Linked DNA regions of Homo sapiens: regions 2 and 3 are each linked to region 1. Evidence: promoter capture Hi-C in 16 types of primary human blood cells and fetal thymus (Javierre and others, 2016). All regions are on one chromosome and are shown on one strand. Each heading gives the region's core, a stretch centred on a gene start or on the middle of the fragment in contact. The rest is flanking DNA. Distances are from core to core; before and after follow the strand shown. Region 1 holds the start of SCAF8 (SR-related CTD associated factor 8). Region 2 overlaps FBXO5 (F-box protein 5). Region 3 has its middle 82 kb from the start of ARID1B.

Region 1 (3,607 bases), core at 799-3,298:
ATTAAAAAAGAAAATGCTTTCCAAAAAAAGTTATGTATCACTGCTATTGAAAATAGCCCAAATATTATCTACCGTTTAGCCTCTTAGCTAAGATTCCCAAATACTGTTTTTCTTTTTAAAGAAATTAAAACAAGATAAAACTATGCAACGGCATTTAAAAGTACTGTCCTATTTGGGCCGTCACAGCAAAAAGCCTCGTATTTTAAGAGGTAAATATTAAAGATACTCTTTAACAATCATAGTATCGAATAAAGTATTGGCACTTTAAGAGTTCATAAAATTTATGCTAATTTAGTTACCAGCATAATTACACTTTTTCTTTTTCTTTTTTTTTTTTTTGTAGACAGAGTCTCACTCTGTCACTGGGCTGGATTGCAGTGGCGCAGATCTCGGCTCACTGCAACCTCCGCTTCCCAGGTTCAAGCGATTCTCCTGCCTCAGCCTCCTAAGTAGCTGGGATTACAGGTGCCTGCCACTACGCCCAGCTAATTTTTTGTATTTTTAGTAGAGACAGGGTTTCACCACGTTGGCCAGGCTGGTCTTGAACTCCTGACCTCGTGATTGGCCCGCCTCGGCCTCCCAAAGTGCTGGGATTACAGGCCTGAGCCACTGTTCCCGGCCATAATTACACTTTCCAAGGCGTACGGGTAGGGATACTAATGCTGACTGTGCAGATGTGTACTTGCTATGTTTGATGTTTACATTAAGGCCTATTGAAGTCGGAGTTTAAAAAGAAATTGAATACATCAAAACCTGTCTTCTTCCAGACTAGTAAATTCAACTACACAGTGAAAATGGAATCTGCTTTTTAAAATCTTGTTTGACACGTGAATGAACCAGCGAGAAATGTTTCCCCCATAATCTTCCATCTCTCGATGCACAGATCTCTCCCTACCATTTGTCTTTATGTCGTGATGGATTAGAAGAGGAGCGAGTAAAAATAAAAGATATTGCAGAATAACCTTTGCCTGCCTACCAACCATCCAATTAGCTCAAGTCCCTAGCTGGCAAATTACCTAGTCAACAATGCCTCAATTATAAACACTACGTGTAACGTGACCACAGATCAACACCCCGTAGGTTCATTTCCCCCACCGCCCCCAATCGGTGTTAGCCTCAGTGAGGACCCGGGAAGGTCTGGAGAGTCATGTCCAGCGTCCACTTAAATCCTCAAAGGCCCAGGAAGGAGGTGGGCGGGCCAGGCCTCGGCGGAACTGACCTCGAGGGACCTGTCGGGAGTCTCCGGGTGAGGGCCCAACCGGGTCTTTCCCTCCGAGCTCGCAGCCATTCCATAGGACGCCGGAGACGCCAGAACCTCCCTCCGCCCCAGGGCGGCCCTCCCCCAACCCTCCTCCCGGACCCGGGGGAGGGGCACCCAGAGGAGAAACACCCCTCCCCCACGGGCACTGCTAGGCCACCGCTCACCCCACCCTTAAAAAACCCGCAGGCCCGCGCCCACCCTCCGGGCCCCGGCCTCGACCAGGGGTGGGGGCGGTGCGGGCAGGAGCAGGGGAACCCGGCTGCCATACCAACCTCGCTATTGAAGGTCTTCACGGCCTCCATGTTGTCGCTGCGGAGGCCCCGAGCCCGGCGGCGGAAGAGGCGGCGGCCACTGCACTGGGTGGGGAGAGCGAGACGCGGGCTGCTGCGTGGCCGCGAGGAGGGGGCGCTGGCGGGAGAGCGGGCCGCTGCGACCTCGGGGCGGAGTGGAAGGGCACGCGCTGGCGGGGAAGGGCTCCCTCAGCGGCAGAGCGGCACCGGCATGGCCGCTAGGGCGGGGGGAGCGCCGTTCTAGGGAACAGAGGCGCTGCCGGGGCGGGTCGGCGGCGGGCGGGGGAGGGGCTGGGCCGCGGCGCCTTCTCTTCTCTGCCCCGCTCCGTTTCGGTCCCCCTCCCTCTAGCCCCTTCCCCTACACTCTCCACTCCCTTCTGCCCCTTCCTCCGACGGGCTCCTGTTTCACCTCCCCGCCGCTCGGGCCGCAGGAACCAGCCCCGCTCGGCGAAGACAGAGGAGGAAGCGCTGGCAGCAGCGGCTGCGGCATCCAATATGGCGGACTCGAGTCGGGCCGCGCAGTTCGGGGATCCGCGGCGCCGGCTAGCGCGCCCCCTGGCGACTGGACCGTGCGAGCCCCGGCGGCCGCGCGGAAACCATCGAGCGCGCTGGGGCCAGAGCGTCGCCGCCCGTAGGCCCGGCTGGGCTCCGCTGCCCTCGCCTTGGCTCCGGGGCCGCCCGCGCCTCGCCCCCTCCCCGCGCCCCGCGGACGCGGGAGTGAGCGCTGCGGCATCCGGGGGAACGCCGCGGCGGGTTTGTACAGCAGGAGGAGGCAACTCCAAAGCGCGGCTCTAATAAGAGCCTAAACGTGCCCAAGAAGCGGCAAGTTGAGGAAATGTGCGCGTTTCCCTTGTTTCCCGGTGGATTGGTCCTTTTGCACAAGCGGCAGGGTTTAGTTGCTTTTCACAACTTTACTGGACAGTGCCCTAAACATCCGCAGCCTTCGCCAAGAAAAAGTTCCTGGTCATCTATTTAGTAACTGAACTCAATTGTTTTAACTGCACAGGGAGGGAACATTAGAAACCAAAGCCTTGGATTCGGGTTGGGGCAGGCGGCGAGGGAAACAGGCATGCAGCAGCTCCTTGCAGGAAATGCCCGCTGCATAGGATCCAGGGACTGGAGTGGCACAATGAGCGCATTTGTCTGCAAGGCGGGAAGGGGACCCTAGAATGCACAACACTTGAATAGGTGAAAAGGGAACCCGTCTGTTTCGGAAGATGAATTGTTCTAAAGGAATTTTGCCCTAGGATACTTGGAGTAAAGGTAAATACAGTATTTCTTAGATGGATTAGGAGATGCTGCTAGTAAAAAGCCTTCTCTCTCGTGCAGCGCAAAATAAGGTACCAATTTAAAAATACTTATCGATGTTAAAAGATAGGGATGTATCGTGGAACCCCGAACACTGCTGTCCTCTTGTTGAAAGTCATTTTTCAACAATCATTCCCAAATTCACTCAAAGGGAGAGAGGAACATAAGGGCAGGATCGTACTTTTGGAGAGTTTTGGAATCAAGGTAGTTCCTAAGAGCTGTGCGCAGAGCCCCGTGAAACTGGGAAAGTAAGGCCCTTCTTGAGGTTTCAGAGCCTTCATTCTACTTCATTGGCAGCTTTAGTATAGGGCCTGGCTACTGAGAAGGTAACAGGGATAACTCACCAAGTGCTTTTATATTTACTTTCAAAATCTCAAATTCTGTCACAGATTTCTCCACCGTCTCCCATCTTCAGGCCTAGCCATGATCTTTTACTGACACTTGCAGTAGCCTCCTAACTGGTCCCTTGCTTGTCTTCCTACAGTTCATTTCCAGACAGTAGCCGAGGGATGTTTTTCTTAGATAAATCAGATCAGGTCACTCCCTTACTTAAATCCCTTAAATACTTTCTCATTGCCCATTTGATACCATCATAACTTCTCACCATGGCCTGAAGGCCCAGCCCAGCCTGCCGCAGCTCACACCACCTTCCCTTGCTCCCTGACTCTCCTCCTGCCACACTGGCCTTTCTGTTACTTGACAAGAAGCAGTGTTTTCATAGGTAGGACAATTGTGTCTCTTCACACAG
Region 2 (3,704 bases), core at 1,000-3,499, 1.8 Mb after region 1:
CTTTTTTCTTTTTTTTTAAGACAGGGTTTCCCTCTGTCTTCCAGGCTGGAATGCAGTGGTATGATCACAACTCCCTGCAGCCTCAACCTCCCGGGCTCAAGCAATTCTCCCGCCTCAGCCTCCCTAGTAGTTGGTACCAAAGGCACATGCCACCATGCCCAGCTAGTTTCTTTTTTTAATTGTTGTAGAGATGGAGTCTCTTTATGTTGCCCAGACTGGTCTGAACTCCTGAGCTCAAGCAGTCCCCCAACCTCAGCCTCCCAAAGTGTTGGGATTATAGGCATGAGCCACTGCACCTTACCTAAATACTAAATCTAATTATCCATGTGAAAATACTGTTGTTGCAAGAGGAACGTGGTAGTCATTTTAACTCCTTAAGTGCTAATTTCGTGAGGAAGAGTACAGATTCTAATGTTGGTATTAGCTAACAAAAAAAAATGGGAAACACATTTTTATATCATATGTCTTCATTGTGTCAGGCACTGCCATTTGCTTGGATTTTGTCATAAGCAGTAACAGTTATGTCTGGCCTTTAAGGAAATTAAAGTACTTTTTAAAATTTCAATTTGGTAGTGCTTTAGAGTAGAGTTTGATGAGGTCTGAGAAGTCCCCCGCCCCCCCCCCCCCCCCAAAAAATGAAGCTCTCCATGATTAATGGATTAGAAGCTAAATAAGCAAAGGAAGTGGAAAAGATTCTAAGCAGGGAAAGGCATGATGTACAAAGCCCCTGGGATGGAAAGGTCATTGTTACTAAGGACTGGAAAAGGGCCAGCTCACATGAGAAAAGAAACGTACACATTTTCTTCTTTAGTACCTTAAGTGCGCTTGCAACATAAATTCTGACTTTTCTATCATTTTTATAAACAGTATGAATGTTATTTGTAAGATCTGTTTTTCCAGAGCACCTCATTATAATGAGGAAGAGAAATCTGGCTCATTTAATTAACTGCCTGTATTGGGCAAACTAAGCTACACTTCAGTGTGCTCAATTGTAAAAATAACAATTCCCCATCCTACCTCAAAAGGTTTGTAAGCATTGGAAATTGCAAACTTCTAAACAAATATAAAGGATTTGCATCATTATTAGCTCTAATTTTAAGGAACTGTCCATATTCAAAGAACAGTGTTGAATGAAAGAGGTTCTATAGGACAACCCCCCAGTAACTGTTCTAAAGACAGCAGAAAGAGAATGACTTTGAATTCCTGAAGTATTTTCAGGCCTTTTTGGTTTAGGCAGCTAAACAAAGCAGAGTGTGCCCTTCATAAGTGGCTTCTGCTTTTTTATCCTGTCATGTAAATTGTGGTCATATATAAATCAAACCTAATTCTTTAGTTGATTTGAGGCAAAAATAGAGGCAATCTCTTGGCATTTTTTACTTTTCCTCTGAATAAAACTAAACCACTCAGAATCATTTGTTCTAGGTTTAGGGTTAATTAGGGAGCTAGAATTTGTATATTCTTTGCTTTTTATGCAGCTGAACCCTTAATTTTAGGTTTAGTAGGATCCTGGAGCACATACTATGTGTCTTTCACTGTATTAACATTGGGAATTTACAAGCAGTTTCTCTCTACAAGTTACTTTCTATGAAGGTATCCATTTCTACTTTGAGTTAAAAAGTTTTGCTCTATGTAAAAAATGGTTAAGTTTTATATGAACGCATTACCAATATTTAGTGCAGACTAAACATACTGATGCTGTATACATTTACTTACAGGATAAATTGTTAGCTATATATGATTGGCTTGTGTGGGGATGGTAGATGGGGCACATTTTAACCTGGCATTTAAGATTCAGGCTTTCTTAGCTCATGTCCCCATTGTTTGCCTACTCTTACTCTCTGCCTTCAACAATGCTAAACAGTTTTCTGAACCCATCTACCATATTCCTTCCCAGCATTGTGCCGTTGCTCAAATTGTGAATGCCCTTCCCAGGCCACTGTTGTCTGACAAAATCCTAATCATTTTTTAGAGTTGTGGTTCTCAACTGAAGAATAGAGGAAATTTTGCATCTGGCCTTTTTCCCTGCCCAGTATTTGGCAATAACTGGTAACTGGAGACATTGCATCTTGGGAGTGGGGGCTGCCACTGGTGTCTAATGGGTAAAGGCTGCTTAACATCCTACAATGCACAGGACAGTCCCTGAGAACAAAGAGGTATTCACTGCAAAATGTCTGTAGCACAGGGATGGTGAAATCTTGCTTTAAAGCTATCTTAAGATGCTGCCTGCTCCATTGTGTCTTAACTGATTTCTTAGATCCCGGGGGTTGGAGCAGGGTGGTAATAAAACCCTGAACAAGTCTTTCCCTTTTTTCTATTTATCATTAATAGCAAGTTTATCTTAAGTTATTTAAAGCAATTGAACAGTAATTTACACCTGCTGCCCTATCACTCATATTCTTAAATCTGGTTAATTGATTAGAGTGTCATTCTTATTTACCAACACTTACTTTTGATTGATAGCAGAACTATTCATACTTACGGTTCTTTGGTAAATTAGTCGTGGAATGTCTTTGTTCAGTGATTAAAGAGCAGTTTCCAGCACATATTAGACAAGGTACAGGGAGATGTCCCGGTACTCGAGTTTACTATCCAGTAAGGTAGACAAACGCTTTGAATATATTAGAAGGTCACCAGGAGCACCCATCAGAATAAAACTTGGAGATAAGAGCTGTGGGAATTCAGGTAGACTTTAATTTATAGATGTTTAAATGTGTTATTAGTTCTTTTCTCCAAGCTACCTATAGATTTCTTGAATAGTTATTTTAAGGCTTGCAATCATTGTTAATAGTGAAATAATACACAAAATTTTTATTATTTTTATCAAGATTATTCCCACCCTTATACCTTGTCCTCCTGTACTAATCTTAACCACTTTTGCTGTCAGTGGCTTGGGTTGTGCTTACGTCAAAGAGAACCATAATGTCATTTCAAGTCCAAGGAATAAACACTGAATCTAAAAGTATTTGTGGTTACTTTAAGGATAACTTTGACCATAGCGCCTACTCTTTTGATACATCACATTTCTTCATTTGTTCCATAAACACAGATGTTTATTATATAGCCCCTTTTTCCACTATTTTTTACTCAATCAGTTATAGACAACAGTCAGGTGTTACAGCCAGGCAGATCCAAAAGCAGTCTGTTCTGAAGTGCCTTCTCAAGAATAATATAATATGTATGTACTTATAAGATTTAAGTAATATTTTCACATATTATTGTCATATCAATAATTAAACTTGAATAACATCACAGCTATGTAAGCAAGTACATGTAGACAATACCTAATGCTGAGAGATTGCAAAGTAATCTTTGTATATCCCAATTTAAGAAGTAGGGATGTGTGGAAATTTTGCCATTAAGATGTAAATGTTATGTTCTTTTTATAGGTTGTAAAGAAGAAAGTTCTACCCTTTCTGTCAAAATGAAGTGTGATTTTAATTGTAACCATGTTCATTCCGGACTTAAACTGGTAAAACCTGATGACATTGGAAGACTAGTTTCCTACACCCCTGCATATTTGGAAGGTTCCTGTAAAGACTGCATTAAAGACTATGAAAGGCTGTCATGTATTGGGTCACCGATTGTGAGCCCTAGGATTGTACAACTTGAAACTGAAAGCAAGCGCTTGCATAACAAGGAAAATCAACATGTGCAACAGACACTTAATAGTACAAATGAAATAGAAGCACTAGAGACCAGTAGAC
Region 3 (4,083 bases), core at 261-2,760, 2.0 Mb before region 1:
AACGGAGATAGATACATGGTAACTGTCTAGGGGATTTCAGCTGTGCATGTGTATTCTCTCCTCCCTGAACATGGCAGAGCAGAAGATACTGCATGCCATAGAATTCATGAAGGGCTCTGTCATTATCCAGCCATGAACATGGGATGTCAAACCAGGTAGGAGTGCTTGGCGGTACATTCCCCTTGAGGGGAAGTGAAAGGGGAAATTGCCCTGGGCCGTGAGAACTGGCTAGGGAACAGGTGCAGAGTGATGGGGCCTCTCTTCTCTGCCAAGTTTGGACTTTAAGTGATTTTGGGGGCAGAACTCACATTGATGACCTCCCTTTTTGTAGTTTCTTAGAGATTATTGAGTAATATTTAAAAATATTTGATGATTAGAGTGAAGACACGTCACATTGGGCCCCAGAGCAATCTTCCACCTCCAGGAGTGGCCAGGATGACTTTGGAGGGACACCTCTGTCATCTTTTCTCCCTAAGTGATGGATGGATAGAGTCTGATCATAATTAATTTTAATAGAGACCTGATGTGCTGTGAGAGAATCTTGGCCATTCAAATGAAATAGAACTGATAGCCAGCCACGAAAAAAATAATCTCAGTTCTATCTCACCATTGGCTTTAGAACATATTAAGTCTAGTTAAGAAGTATTTATGGAGGGCTTCTGTGCCTGGTGCTATAGAAAGGGATACAAAAAAAGGACCTTGTCTGACATTCTCTGTCTGAATTGGACAGACAAGAAATATAATAAAATAATAATGTACTATCTGTGAGGCCCTGACATATGGTATACACTGAGTTATATGCTCAGTGTGCATTAGCTCTAATTCATTAATTCTTTCCACAAATGTTTCTGGAGTGCCTAGTATGTGCCAGGGATTCTAGTTGCTGGGAGAACCATAGGGCAGAAGGCAGAGCAAGTCCCTGCCTTTGGGAAACATTCTAGTACTTATAAGCAAATGAGTATGCACGATCATTTCAGGGAATGATCAATGCTATAAAGAGCCAGGGGCAGTGGCTCATGCCTGTAATCCCCGCACTTTGGGAGACCGAGGTGGGCGGATCACGAGGTCGGGAAATTGAGACCATCCTGGCCAACGTGGTGAAACCTGGTCTCCACTAAAAAAAAAAATAAAAATAAAAAATAAAAAAAAAATTAGCCAAGCGTGGTGGCGTGTGCCTGTAATCCCAGCTACTCGGGAGGTTGAGGCACGAGAATAGCTTGAACCTGGGAGGTGGTTCAAGTGAGCCGAGATCGCACCACTGCACTCCAGCCTGGTGACAGAGCGAGACTCCGTCTCAAAAGAAAAAAAAAAAAAAAAAAGAAAAAGAAAAAGACAAAAGAAAAGAAAAAGAAAAAGAAGTAGGGTACAGGGATAGAGGGGCATTGGGGCCCAGCTAGGGGATATTTTAGACAGGCCTCTCTGACGGGGTGGGCTGGAAGAATGAAGTGAACCCCAGAGGCCGAGGGTCCAGGCAGAGAGAACAGCAAGTATAGAGGCGCTGTGGGGATTCCTGAGACCAGGGCGGCTGGAATGGGGTGAGGCAGGAGGAGGGGCAGGAGAAGAAACAGGACAGACAGTAAGTGACTCTGCTGTGTCAGGTCTTGCAGGAAATGACAATCATTGCAGGTTTCATTCTGAGGCCAACGGGCAGCTCTTGGAACATTTTGAAGCAGGAGAGGGTTACCTGGAAACAGACTCTGAGCTGGCAATGCACAGGCAGAAGCCCTGTTCTCCCACCAGCAGAAGAACAAGAGAGAAGCAGGGCTGGGAAGAGGGAGAACGTGGGGTATCTCAACACAGACCCCCAACTGATCCCGCCAAAGCTGTGGGGTTGGGAGGACCCTTCAGAGTTTCCTCCAGTTGAGGCAAGAGGGCTGGACCTTATAAACCAGCATCAACCAGTTGCTGTCTCCCAAGAGGGGTTATAGACTTGGGCTAGGCAGCTCCCTGTGGGAGCGGATGCCTGGAGAGCGACACAGCTGTAGGCCGCCAGCAGTCAACACCCCCAGCAGCTAGGGCAGTGGCACCTGAGTCCTGAAGGGTGGCTCTCCACAGAATCCGCTACAGATCTGTTTATGTTTTCATTCTTATAAAAATCCTCTAAGTTAGGTGTTTTTATTCCCATTAGACAGGAGGAAACTGAGGCTCATGGAGTTTAGGCAACCTGTTCAAGGTCATACCTAGGAGATGTTGGATTTGAGACTAGATCTCTCCAAATGCAAAGACCATATCCTTTAAAAAATTGTGATAAAATATACATAAGTGAAATTTACCCTCTTAACCATATTTCAGTATAAAGTTGGTAGCATTAAGTACATTCACATTGTTGTGCAACCACCCCACTATCCTCCAGAACATTTTGTTTTTAAATATATGGAGTCTTGCCATGTTGTCCAGGCTAGCCTCGAACTCCTGAGATCAAGTCATCCTCCTGCCTCAGCCTCCTGAGTAGTGAGGATTACTGGAGTGCACCACCACACGCAACTAATTTTTATTTTTTGTGTAGACAGGGTCTGACTATGTTGCCCAGACTGGTCTCAGACTCTTGGGCTCAAGCAATCCTCCTGCCTCAGCCTCTTGAGTGGGTGGGACTACAGATGCATGCTACCTCACTTGGTTTCATCTCCAAAACTTTTTCATCTTGCATAACTGAAACTCTGAATCTGTAAAATAATAACTTCTCATTCTCCTCCCATCTCCCTAGTCCCTGGTAACCAGCACTCTACTTTCTGTCTTTATGAGTTTGACTATTCTAGATATAAGTGACATCCCACAGTATTTGTCCTTCTGTGGCTGGCTTATTTCACTTAGCATATTGCCTTCAAGGCTCATCCATATTGTAGCATGTATGCGAATTTCATTCCTCTTTAAGGCTGAATCATATTCCATTGTATGGATATTCCACCATTTATCTGTTTATTCATCTGCCATGGGCATATGGGTTGTTTCCCCCTTTTGGCTATTGTGAATAATGTTGCTATCAACATGGGTGTACAAATATCTCTTCATGGCCCTGCTTTCAATTATTTGGGGTATATATACCCAGAAGTGGGATTGCTGGATCCTATGGTAGTGCTACTTTCAGTTTTTTGAGGAATCATCATAGTGCTTTCCCCGGTGGGTACACTGTTTTCCATTTCCACCAGTATTGCACCAGGGACTGGAACCAGGGTTCCAGTTTTCCACATTTGTGCCAACACTTATTTTCTTCTCTCTCTCTCTAATAATAGCCATCCCAATGGGTGTGAAGTAGTATCTCACTGTGGTTTTGAGACCATGTACTTTTCATTGCCACCATGCTCCCTCTCTGAAGGGAATCAAAGATTTCAAGCTTGCATCCAATCCCATCATTCCACTTGTGGGTGAAAATGGTGACAATGCTTAGTCAAGACAAAAGCTCACTGAGCGAGGTGGCTCACGCCTGTATTCCCAGCACTTTGGGAGACTGAGGCGGGCAGATCGCCTGAGCTCAGGAGTTCAAGACCACCCTAGGCAACATGGTGAAACCCTGTCTCTACTAAAATACAAAAAATGAGCTGGGCGTGGTGCCACGCGCCTGTAGTCCCAGCTACATGAGGCACAAGAATCGCTTGAGCCCTGGAGGTGGAGGTTGCTGTGAGCCAAGATCATGCCACTGCACTCCAGCTTGGGCTACAGAGTGAGACTCTGTCTCAAAAAAAAAAAAAAAAAAAAAAGACAAAACTCAGTTAATCTCCCTGGATTAACATACCCCGAGGCACTCAGACAACTAAAGAACAATACAAAATTTGTCACTGTATGCTGAATTAGTCTTTAAAGTTTTTGCTCAAGAACCCTAAAATAGTTTAGAAAACAATGCTCTTCTTTGCATATTTTTAAATCGATACCTATAATTTTATCATACATTTGAATAGTTATAAACATGTGAATTCTAGCATATTGTAAATGTTGACATTTTAAAAGAAAACTGTGACATCACTCTTTTAAATGCATCTCAATGGAATTCACATCCCATCACAGTTTGTTACCCACCATCATCCATTTAAGAAATACACATGCCAGTTCATCTTCAGCAAGCAAAAATTGTATTCCATTTTCTCTTTG

Evidence for each region. The method cuts DNA at HindIII sites, captures the fragments that hold promoters and counts their contacts. A CHiCAGO score of 5 or more calls a contact.
Region 2: a contact is called between a fragment that was not itself captured here and the fragment with the promoter of SCAF8 in region 1, in 1 of 17 cell types (neutrophils). The highest score is 5.3, in neutrophils.
Region 3: a contact is called between a fragment that was not itself captured here and the fragment with the promoter of SCAF8 in region 1, in 1 of 17 cell types (fetal thymus). The highest score is 5.2, in fetal thymus.

What each region holds. Positions count from the first base shown.
Region 1 is chr6:154,731,857-154,735,463 of GRCh38, reverse strand. SCAF8 (SR-related CTD associated factor 8) reads right to left here and starts at 2,048. Exons shown (of 20, transcript NM_014892.5): 1 at 1,534-2,048. The coding sequence starts at 1,563. RefSeq lists silencers at 1,276-1,875, 2,026-2,145, 2,176-2,415 and an enhancer at 1,512-2,015. The HindIII fragment of the contact is 14,602 bases long and covers 1-3,607 here.
Region 2 is chr6:152,975,304-152,979,007 of GRCh38, reverse strand. It overlaps FBXO5 (F-box protein 5), which reads left to right. Exons shown (of 5, transcript NM_012177.5): 2 at 3,387-3,704. Among named protein-coding and RNA genes, the nearest start is that of FBXO5, 5.9 kb to the left of the region's middle. The HindIII fragment of the contact is 9,862 bases long and covers 1-3,704 here.
Region 3 is chr6:156,693,467-156,697,549 of GRCh38, reverse strand. No RefSeq gene overlaps it. Among named protein-coding and RNA genes, the nearest start is that of ARID1B, 82 kb to the left of the region's middle. RefSeq lists an enhancer at 439-488. The HindIII fragment of the contact is 3,647 bases long and covers 1-3,333 here.